Regions from separate parts of the Homo sapiens genome. Here all the other regions are linked to region 3. Evidence: promoter capture Hi-C in 16 types of primary human blood cells and fetal thymus (Javierre and others, 2016). All regions are on one chromosome and are shown on one strand. The core of a region is centred on a gene start or on the middle of the fragment in contact, and the rest is flanking DNA. Distances in the headings are between cores, read along the strand shown. Region 1 overlaps SYT17 (synaptotagmin 17). Region 2 overlaps TMC7 (transmembrane channel like 7). Region 3 holds the start of SYT17 (synaptotagmin 17).

Region 1 (3,617 bases), core at 350-2,849, 94 kb before region 3:
AGCCTCACATATCTGCTATCTGTCTGGTTCATCCATGTTGTAGTGCTACTTTTTATGGCCAGCTAACGTTCCATTGTATGGATATGCCATGTTTTGCTTATCTGTTCATCAGATGATGGACATTTGGGTTGTTTCCACATTTTGACTATTATTATGGATAATGCTACTGTAAACATTTATGTCCAAGTTTTTTTTTTCTTTTCTTTTTTTTTTTTTTTTTTGAGTTGTAATTTCACTGTTGTCACCCAGGCTGGGATGCAGTGGCGTGATCTCGGCTCACTGCAACCTCTGCCTCCCGGGCTCAAGTGATTCTCCTGCCTCAGACTCCCAAGTAGCTGGGTACAGGTGCCCACCACCATGCCTGGCTAATTTTTGTATTTTTAGTAGAGACAGGGTTTTGCCACATTGGGCAGGCTGGTCTTGAACTCCTGACCTCAGGTGATCTGCCCACCTCGGCCTTCCAAAATGCTGGGATTACAGGCATAAGTCACCATGGCTGGCCTATGTACCAAGTTTTTAAGGTCATATATTATGATCCATTTATATGAAATGTCCAGAATAGGCAGATCTTTAGAGACAGAAATTACCATTAGTGGTTATCAAGGATAGAGGAAAGAGGGAATGGGGTGTGATAGCTAATTGGCACAGGGCTCCTTTTTGGGGTGATAAAAATGTTCTGGAATTAGATAGTGGTGTTGGTTGCACAATCTTGAAAATATACTAAAAAGCACTGAATCGTATACACCAAAAGGGTGAGTTTTAAGTTATGTGAATTTTATCTCAATTAAACAAATTGCCAAAAGGGAATACAAAAAAAAAAAAAAGATTATCTGACTCCTTATAGAAAAGTTTGCTGACCCCTGCACCAGGGCATTGTTTATAAGAATGAAAAACGGGAAATGGCAAGACTGTCCCTGAGGGAGTGTAGCTGGGGCTGTTGGTGCCCTGCCTACCCCTCAGCCCACCTTGGAGGCTACTCATGGTTTCTATAGATAGTGTCCTTCCTCAAGCACCTGCAGCTTCCTGCCTGAGCCATGCCAGCTTGTCTGTGCTAACTGTGATTTATGGTGAGGACCTTGGGCCACTCAACATTAGCTGGACCTCTGCAAGCTACCTCTGCAAGGAGGCTCAGCTACCCAGATGGTCAGCCATGACTATATGACCAACGTCCTCTAACTATGCTGGACACCAAGGCTCAGGTGAGTCTTCTTGGGTGGCAATACCCTAAGTGTGTTGTCACACATCCTTGCAAGGAGAATTAGGCACTGCTCGTATAACTCCAGTTGAGGAGAACAACTGGAAGCTTGCATCTGGTCTCTCTTGGACTTTTTCCTATGACAAAGAGGACTCTTTCCCCTTTCTTAGTCTGCTGGGCTGCTATAACAAATTACCATAAACAGGGAGGCTTATAAACAACAGGAATTTATTTCCTAATGGTTCCAGAAGCTAGGAAGTCCCAGATCAAGGTACCAGCAGATTCAGTGTCTGGTGAGGGCTTGCTCTCCTTCATAGGTGGTGCCTTCTCATGCAATAGAAGCAGCAAGACAGTTCTCTTGGGTTTCTGTTATAAGGGCACCAACCCCATTCATGAGGACAGAGCCTTCATGGTCTAATCACCTCCCACATGGGGATTAGGATTCAACATAAGAATTTTGGGGGAACAAAACATTCAGACCATAGCAGCAATCTTTCACTTTGCTGATTTTGGTCTGTATGCTTTTTCTGTAATAAACTGTAACCATGAGAATAACAGTTTTTCCAAGTTCTGTGGTGAATCATTGGACCTGAGGGTGATTTTGAAGACCCCCTATACTGCAGATATCCACTCGCCAAACATCCTTGATTTGTTTTCCTCCTTTTCCTGTCTTATTTGCCATTCCCTTATTCAAGCTTCCTGAGGTCACCTCCTAGTAGCCTACTTGAGCTCATGTCACTAAGTTTGTCTTTGGGAGGTACCTAGAATAAGACTGGAGGAAATGAATTAAATAACTTCTGAGATAATAATACCACGGAAATCCATGTTGCCATTAAAAATGAGACAGACTTATCTATATGAAATGGAAAAATCTCCAACACATATTGCTAGGAGACAAAAGCACATTACAAAACAGTATATGTAAGCACAATCTTTTTGTTAAAAAGAATGTTAATATACCTGAAGAAAACAATATGGATGTTCACCACTGTTCAGAGTGGCTCTCTCTGGGAAGGGGGAAACAGAGGAAAATGTCCACTTTCTGTATCAATAAGTATGTACAGTTTGAACTTCTTACAGAAAGTACATATTATTTTGGAAAGAAAACAAAGGAAAAATAAGTCACTGTTAGAGAATCCACAACTAAATCACCAGAAAGGATGAAAACTAAAAGGAAGTCTAATATCCTATGCTCCTCATCCCAATTTGTAAAGTAACTTGGCTGGTGAATCACTTGGCCCTTGAAAGGTGGGAGCGCTTGAGTGATTCAGCCTTTCTGATGGGAGGCAGTTCCTGCCATGGCCATCTGAGTTAATTAGCAGGCAGTGTAAATTGCAAATCACTTGGTAAAGTTATGGCAATCTTAACAGTCTTAAAAAAATTTAAAATGCAAATTATAATAAAGTGAAGCTGAAGATAAGTAATAACTTCTATTAGAAAGTTGCCTGGGAGAATATCAAGATTGCCATCACTGTAAATTCTAAGTGTGTTGGAGAAAATAGAGAATTAAAACTAGACATGTCAGGGGCCAGGTGCAGTGGCTCACACCTGTAATCCCAGCACTTTGGGAGGTCAAGGTGGGAGGATCTCTTGAGCCCAGGAGTTCGAGACCAGCTTGGGCAACATAGTAAGACTCTCTTTCTACAATTTTTTTTTAAAGACTAGACATGTGGAATCCAGAAAGGGGCTTAGGGACAGTGGGTCAGATAACCCAGCCCTCTCCATGTTATAGGTAAGGAAACCAAGTCACATAGCTAATTGGTGATAAAATTTGCAGTATTTGAATAACCTGTGAATGAAGCCAATTCCTTATAACCACATTCCTAAATTCCTTCTCTTTAGAAACATCCATAACTAAAAATTTTGTTGTAAAGTACCTCCACCAAATATTTCTACTGATGGTTATGGGGGACTCTTTTAAATGTAGTCACTAATATATTTCTGGATATTGTAAGCCAAAAATACAATTCTAAGCCCCCTAACCATCTGAATGGGCCCCTCCTCTTGGTCAAGGGCATTCCAAAGGTGACCTGAAAAGCTAGTTCAGGCTGTGGTGGGAAGGGGAAGTCAGACATGCCAACATTAACATGAAGACAGATCTTAAGACTGATAGAACGAATTCTTTTTTTTTTCTTTCCTTTTTTTTTTTTTTTTTTTTTTTTTGAGACAAGGTCTCTCTCTGTTACCCAGGTGCAGTGGCATGATCTCAGGTCACTGCAACTTCTGCCTCCCAGGCTCAAGTGATCCTCCTACCTCAGCTTCCCAACTAGCTGGGACCACAGGTGCACACCACTATGCCTGGCTTTTTTTTTTTTTTTTTTTTTTTTTTTGGTATTTTCTGTAGAGATGGGGTTTCACCATGTTGCTCAGGCTGGTCTCTAACTCCTGAGCTCAAGTGATCTTCCCGCCTTGGCCTCTCAAA
Region 2 (3,831 bases), core at 1,270-3,769, 110 kb after region 3:
TTAAAATGAAAACTGATTACATTAAACAATAACTTAAACTTCTGTTCTTCTGTTAAAAGGTTGACATCTATCAATTTTGGGTAAGCTTACAATGAGGTATTTATTGCATATGGTTTTTACCATAACGGAAATCTTAAGAGATATTCTACATTTTTTTTTTAGGGAGAGTTTTGCTCTTTTTGCCCAGGCTGGAGTGCAATGGTGTGATCTCAGCTCACTGCAAACTCCACCTCCTGGGTTCAAGCAATTCTCCTGCCTCAGCCTCCTGAGTAGCTGATATTACAGGCATGTGCCACCACACCCAGCTAATTTTGTATTTTAGTGGAGACGGAGTTTCTCCACGTTGGTCAGGCTGGTCTTGAACTCCCCAACTTAGGTGCTCCGCCTGCCTCGGCCTCCCAAAGTGTTGGGATAACAGGCGTGAGCCGCTGCGCCCAGCCACATGTTTTGTGAAATAAAGGCACATGCATTAAAAATTGTAAGCACAGGAAAACAACCCTAAAAAATGTGGACGTGTGTGTTTAAGAAACCAGCCTCCAATTCTGTTTGTTATACACTCATGGGCTGGTCTGATTAACAGGCTGAGCTTCAGTCCACAACCCAAAACACTTGTGCACATAAACTCGTGGCTCAAATACTAAACTACCGTCTCCGCTCTTTCATTCTTGTAAAAGCTTGAATGGCTTGTTGGTTTTTGGTAGAGTTGTCACAGAGTGGCCGGTCTGCAGGCAAAGCCTTGGGTTTCCCCTGCTTTTCTAAGTCACTGAAGCCCTAATTAAGGGCTGGGTTAGGTAAACACAGCTGCACATATGGAAAAGCCTAAACTCAAGAAAAATATATTTTTAAATGTCCACTCAAAACCCAGGTAGACTCTGTAGGCTCAGCAGAATCACTAGGTCAGCTTAGAAGCAACAGGCAGCACCATCTTCACGCTCAGTCTAGTTAGTTCCTCATGTCCCTTTGGGCTTCTGTTAGTTTCTGGATTAGGTAGCACTTGTCACGACTTTCCTAAAAAATAATAAGTTCACATGTACATTTAATATATTTGGAAACAAATACCATCATTACCTACCAGACTGAGGGCTGAGGATTCTAACCACTGGACTATTGTAATGGCCTCTCATCTGGTCTGTCATTGTGTCTGCTCCACAGCCCCTTGTCCACAAAGCAGCCGATCCTTTTTTTAAAAAATGCACAGTACAGCTGGACACGGTGGCTCATGCCTGTAATCCCAGCACTTTGGGAGGCCGAGGCAGGTGGATCACCTGAGGTCAGAAGTTTGAGACCAGCCTGACCAATATAGTAAAACCCCATCTCTACTAAAAATACAAAAATTAGGCCGGGTGAGGTGGCTCACACCTGTAATCCCAGCACTTTGGGAGGCCAAGGCAGGTGGATCACCTGAGGTCAGAAGTTTCAGACCAGCCTGACCAACGTGGTGAAACCCCACCTCTACTAAAAATACAAAAATTAGGCCAGGCGAGGTGGCTCACGCCTGTAATCTCAGCACTTTGGGAGGCCGAGGCAGGTGGACCACCTGAGGTCAGGAGTTCGAGACCAGCCTGGCCAACAAGGTGAAACCCCGAAACCCCGTCTCTACTAAAAATACAAAAAATTAGCCGGGCGTGGTGGCAGGTGCCTGTAATCCCATCTACTTGGGATGCTGAGGCAGGAGAATTGCTTGAACCCAGGAGGTGGAGGTTGCAGTGAACTGAGATCACACCACTGCACTCCAGCCTGGGCGACAGAGTGAGACCCTGTCTCAAAGGAAAAAAAAAAAAAAAAAGACTGGCCATCATGGTGAAACCCCTTCTCTACTAAAAATACAAAAGTTAGCCGGTTGTGATGGTGGGTGCCTGTAATCCCAGCTACTTGGGAGGCTGAGGAAGGAGAATCAATTGAACCCGGGAGGTGGAGGTTGCAGTGAGCTGAAATTGCGGCACTGCACTCCAGACTGGGTGACAGAGCAAGACTCTGTCTCAAAAAAAAAAAAAAATGCACAGTAGACTCTTACAAACCCTTCAGCAGCTTCCCATCCCACTCAGAATAAAACTCTAAACAGAGCCCTCAAGGCACTGTGACTTGATGACTCTGGTTGCTATTACAATATCACCTTGCCTCTTCCCATCACTCACCACCCTGTGGCCACACTGTCCCCTCCCTCCTGTCCCCCTGAAGTGCCTGGCTCATTTCTTTACTGTGCTCTTTGCCTCTTACTTTCATCCTTAAATAGGACCTCAGATAATGGGCTCCTCTCTCTATTATTCAAGTCTCAGCTAGGGTCCAGGCATAGTGGCTCATGCCTGTAATCCCAGCACTTTGGGGAACTGAGAGGGGACAATCACTTGAGCCCAGGAGTTCAAGACCAGCCTGGGCAACATAGGGAGACCTCATGTCTATAAAAAATTTAAAAATTAGCCAGGCATGGTGATGCACGCCTGTAGTCCCAGCTACTTGGGAGGCTAAGGTGGGAGGATGGCTTGAGACCAAGAGTTTGAGGCTGCTGTGAGCTATGACCACACAATCGCACTCCAGCCTGGGCGAGAGAGTGAGACCCCGTCCTGAATAAAAAAATAAAAAAAAATCACCTCCTCAAAGAAGCCTTCTACAGCCGCATCTGCAGTAACTGATAGCCCGCTTGTCACTCTACCTTGTTTTTATTGTCTTCATAGAAGCTATAATTAATCAGCATTTATCTTATTAACTACCCAGCAGCTTTGTCTCTTGTTCACCAAAGCGTCCCAGCACCCAGCATAGTACAAGGCACAGAGTAGGTACTTAATACACATCTTTTTTTATTTTTATTTTTAAGATGGAGTCTCACTCTGTCACCCAGGCTGGAGTGCAATAGCGCAATCTCAGCTCACTGCGACCTCCACCTCCTGAGTTCAAGGGATTCTCCTGCCTCAGCCTCCCAAGTAGCTGGGATTACAGGTGCCCACCACCACGCCCAACTACTTTTTGTATTTTTAGTAGAGACGGGGTTTCACCATGTTGGCCAGGCTGGTCTTGAACTCCTGAGCTCAAGTAATCTGCCTGCCTCGGCCTCCCAAAAGTGCTGGGATTACAGGCATGAGCCACCACATCCCCCTTAATACACATCTTGAAGGAATGGATGAATCAGTGAATTAATGAAGCTGGACGCGGCTGGGCCTCAAGGCAGAGTTTTGGGGAGGTGGTGGTGAGAGAAGGCTGCAGTAATTTCACTCCCTCCCAGGAAAACAGCACTTTCCTTGCAGTGTCCTGGGTAAATGTCCCCAGCCATGACCCTCTGGAGCTATGCTTCCTTACCAGGGATAGCTGCTCTCGGAGCTGGATGACCACCCGTTTGTGTGCTCCAGCTAAGGCAATGAAGTAAAACATGATGAGGCTGCAACACAAGACAGACAGGTCACAAGGGAGTCTGGATCATCTGAAGGCCAATAGAAAAATAACCCAACATATTTTTCCTTGGAACAGTTTTACTCTTGTTAGAAAAGAAGGCTGGGCATGATGGCTCATTTTATAATACCAGTGCTTTGCCCAGGCAGAAGGATCACTTAAGGCTGGGAGTTTGAGACCAGCCCAGGCAACATAGGGAGAGCCCCACCTCTAGAAAAATAAAATATGGCCGGGCGCAGTGGCTCACACCTGTAATCCCAGCACTTTGGGAGGCCGAGGCAGGCGGATCACCTGAGGTCAGGAATTTGAGACCAGCCTGACCAACATGGTGAAACCCCGTCTCTACTAAAAATACAAAAGTTAGCTGGGCGTGGTGGTGGACGCCTATAATCCCAGCTACTCAGGAGGCTGAGACAGGAGAATCCCTTGAACCCAAGAGGCAAAGGTTGC
Region 3 (3,839 bases), core at 355-2,854:
CCAGTGCCAGCACTTAGTAGGCGGTCGCCCAAGTGTTTGTTGGGCGACTACTCAATAGCCCCTGGACAACATTCAGCACACAGTGGGTGGACAGTAATGTGACCTTCATTGAACTTGAAGAGAAACTGGCGATTCCACGAAAGGGAAGCCAATTCAGGGAATCTAAGGCAGGAGATGAATGGAAGAGGCTCCGCCAGGTGACACAGCACAGAGTTCCCGGCAGGCTGAAGCGTCTGAGGACACGATGAGGGGATATGTGACCCAGAGGGGAATGGGAGGACCAGCAGCACCCCCAGCTGTGGCTGAGGGGACAAGATGTGAGCCAAGATGCACCCTGGACGTGGGAGTCTGTAAGCTTCTCTGCCCAGCTCAGAGGCGCCAGCGCCAGAAGCAAGCAGCTCAACGGGTCTCACTGCGGGTCTGCCTGCTTGACCTTGGCGCTGACCTGCGGTCACTTCCCTTCTTGCAGAGGAGAAAGGTCTTTTCACCAAGAAGCCCGGCCCACCCCTCCGCCCCCTCCCCCCAAAAAAGGCTGCTTAGAAATTATTTCAGAATTATTTCAGCCCAAGGATTCTTGGGGGACGTTTCTTCAAGGTGAAGAGGGTCCACATCTCCCAGACCCCAATGCAGCGGAGTAAAGTAACAGGCTCCCTTCTCTTCACCAGCGCGCCTCTGGCCTCTGGGTGTCCCCCACCCCTCAGCACCCAGTGCCCAGGAGAGACGACGTCCTTGTCCCTCCTGGTCGGAACAGCTGCCTCAGGCTCGCTCCGCCGGCCAATTAGCCGGAGCCGTCACCACGGCAACGGCAGCTGGCGGGCCGGGTGGCTGGCGCGCCCCGGGCCGCCCTCCCCACGGCCCCTCCCCTGGGGTGGGGTGCCAAGGAGAGGGAGGGGGCAGGGGAGAAGAAAAGTCCGCCCCACCCCCCATTCCCTCCCCAAGAGGCAAGGGCGCGCGTTGCAGAGTACACATAGGACCCTCCATCCCGGGGTTTGGGGGTCCCCAGTCTCTCCTCCCGGGGCGCACCCCTGTTGCTGCACAGGTTGCCCGCGCACGGGCACCCTTTTTCTCGAAGCAAGTTTGTGGGAGCCTAGCCGTGGGCCCTCCCTTCCGCGCGCTCCCAGCCGGAGGGGGCGCGGCACCCCCTACCCGCACCCCGGACCTTGCCCCCAGCCTCAGCCCTACCTGGATGTACGCCATTTTCGCCCGCGCGCACTCACTCCGGCCCGGGCATGGCGCCGCCACGGCCACTTTGCCCTCGCCAACAGCGGAGGGGGAAGAAAGCAAAGGGGGAAAGGAAGAAAAAGGCAGCCGGTGGCCCCAGACGTGACTGGCGTGGCTGATGAGCGGCGCCCGCCCCTCCGCCGGCCGCCCCGTCCTTGCCTTTCCCTGCGTTCCGGCTCTCGGAATCGGGGCCGCCTCCCCGGTTCGGAGATATCGGGCGCCCAGGGCCCCCGCCTCGGCCTCCCTCGCTGTCCCGTGCTCCCCACCGAGGCGCTCCCCAGGCTGGAATAAGGCCGGGGCGCCTGGGCAAGCAGCCCGGGGCAGCTGCGGGGACTGCAGCGACCCCAGCGCAGGCGGGGCCGGAGACGCCGGGGCCGGAGCGCGCAGGAGGCGGGGGAGGGGATGGGAATGGGGAAGGGGGTGGGAGGGGGCGGTACACAGGTCAGCCCATCCTGCTGGCACGGGGGCTGGCACCTACCGAAAGCAGCGCCCCCGGGGCAGCCGTGGAGCCGAGGGGACACAGTGCAGCCTGCCATGAAGTCTGCAGCAGGGAGGGTCCTTCCCATCCAGCCCTCTCCCCAAACTGGGTTGGAAAAACTTTATTCCCGCCCCACCCGACGCGCCTAGCACGGTTGCGGTGAGGCTTGCAGAGGCTGCGTGGATGGGAGCCTCAAGTTAAGGTGGGCGTAGGGCGTCCCAAACGGAGGTGCTGCGTCCAGGGCTGCAGGGGGCGCGCGGAGAGAGCGGAGCGCCCCTTTACCCTAAACCTGCCGGAGTTGCGCCCTGGACGCAACAGGTCTAGCGCGGGGCGGCCCGGCAGCGCCACCCAGCGTCGTGCCCGGCCTCGTGCGCTCCTCTGCCCACGGGCAGGCGGCCGCCAGCGAGCGTGCGCCCCGGGGCGTGTCCACCGCCGCCCTCCTGCCTGTCCTCGTGGCTGGGGCGCCCTGGACCCAGAGGCCTCCATCAAACCTCCCAGCCCAAGGCCTCTGGCTCTCCACTCAGAGATTCGAGGTGGAACATTGCCCTCCGCTGGATTTCTTATTTTATTTTATTTTATTTTATTTTATTTTATTTTATTTTATTTTATTTTATTTTATTTTATTTTTGACACAGGGTGTCACTCTGTCACCCAGGCTGGAGTGCACTGGGGTAATCTTGGCTCACTGAAACCTCCGCCTCCCAGGTTCAAGGGATTCTCGTGTCTCAGCCTCCCGAGTAGCTGGGACTACAGGCACATGCCACCACGCCCACTAATTTTTGTATTTTTGGTAGAGAAAGGGTTTCACCATGTGGGCCAGGCTGGTCTCGAACTCCTGGCCTCAAGTGATCTGCCTGCCTCGGCCTCCCAAAGTGCTGGGATTAGGGGCGTGAGCCACTGCGCCGGGCCGGTTTTCTTTTTAATATGCCCAGTCATCTCCTGTTGCCGGACACCAGCTTATCAGCATTTTAATTTTAACCTCCCAGTGCCTCTTTTTCCTCAGTAAAAACAGGAGAAAATCTCCACCCTGCCTATCCTCCAGGGCTGATTTGTGGGAATAAATGAGAAAATGAATATGGGAGTAACAAAAGATGGATATTCAGATGCATATATTTTTTGTCTAAAAATCTAGCAGACCTATACATTTTTTAGTATGATATATTTAGTTTGTAGCATATAGCACGTAACGCATATTGAGTGCTTATGATTCTGCAGGCATACACGCCTCAACACTTCACAAGCGTTATTTCATTTCAACCTGCAGTACCTTGATCACTCCTATTAGGTAGCACCTGTCCAGCCAGAGTAGGCACTCAGTAATTGTTTTTGTTGCCTTATTCACTCTGCTTCCTGAGGGAGGTGCTATGATTATCTCCAATTTATGAGGGACTGCAGCCCAGACAGGTAAAGCCTCTATGAAGGCCTGACAGCTGGTAGCCCAGGGCACTGACATTTGAACCCACAAGTCCAGCAGTGAACCCAAAGTGGCCACTCCTAACCACTTTGTGGTATTTATCCACAATCTTTCTCCAGCACTGATGGCAAGGCATGCCAGGTGGGGAGTGAGCCTCACAGAGGAGGATGCCTATTGGAACGGGTGCTCCTTGGGGGCACTTGAGGGAGTTCGAGGAATTTGCTAGGTGTTCCCATAAGTAAAAATAGTTAACCCTTTTTCACCTGAGGTCAGGAGTTCGAGATCAGCCTGGCCAACATGGCGAAACTCCGTCTCTACTAAAAATACAAAAAATAGCCGGGCATGGTGGCAGGTGCCTGTAATCCCAACTACTCAGGAGGCTGAGGCTAGGAGAATCACTTGAACCTGGGAGGCGGAGGTTGCAGTGAGCTGAGATCGTGCCACTGCACTCCAGCCTGGGTGACAGAATGAGATACCATCTCAAAAAAAAAAAGTTAACCCTTTTTGAGGTCTGTGTACCAGGCACTGTTTTCAGCCCTTTACACAAATTTTGATCTTTTAATTCTCTGATTACCATGAGGTAGGCACAAGTACTATCCCACTCTTTAGGTGAGAAAAAAAGAGGCATTAAGAGGTGAAGTTGGCCAGGCATGGTGGCTCATGCCTGTAATCCCAGCACTTTGGGAGGCCAAAGTGGGTGGATCACTTGAGGCCAGGAGTTCAAGA

What was found. The method cuts DNA at HindIII sites, captures the fragments that hold promoters and counts their contacts. A CHiCAGO score of 5 or more calls a contact.
Region 1: a fragment that was not itself captured here is called in contact with the fragment with the promoter of SYT17 in region 3 in 1 of 17 cell types (M1 macrophages); the score reaches 5.1 in M1 macrophages.
Region 2: a contact is called between a fragment that was not itself captured here and the fragment with the promoter of SYT17 in region 3, in 1 of 17 cell types (monocytes). The highest score is 5.9, in monocytes.

Annotation. Positions count from the first base shown.
Region 1 is chr16:19,260,245-19,263,861 of GRCh38, reverse strand. All of the region lies in intron 7 of SYT17 (synaptotagmin 17), which reads right to left. Among named protein-coding and RNA genes, the nearest start is that of CLEC19A, 24 kb to the left of the region's middle. The HindIII fragment of the contact is 587 bases long and covers 1,306-1,892 here.
Region 2 is chr16:19,058,955-19,062,785 of GRCh38, reverse strand. TMC7 (transmembrane channel like 7) reads right to left here. Exons shown (of 16, transcript NM_024847.4): 15 at 3,292-3,370; 16 at 1-1,008. The coding sequence ends at 943. COQ7-DT (COQ7 divergent transcript) reads left to right here. Exons shown (of 3, transcript NR_119381.1): 3 at 1-32. Among named protein-coding and RNA genes, the nearest start is that of COQ7, 6.7 kb to the left of the region's middle. The HindIII fragment of the contact is 3,685 bases long and covers 677-3,831 here.
Region 3 is chr16:19,166,005-19,169,843 of GRCh38, reverse strand. SYT17 (synaptotagmin 17) reads right to left here and starts at 1,604. Exons shown (of 8, transcript NM_016524.4): 1 at 1,183-1,604. The coding sequence starts at 1,197. RefSeq lists an enhancer at 1,020-1,767 and a silencer at 1,959-2,208. The HindIII fragment of the contact is 5,386 bases long and covers 358-3,839 here.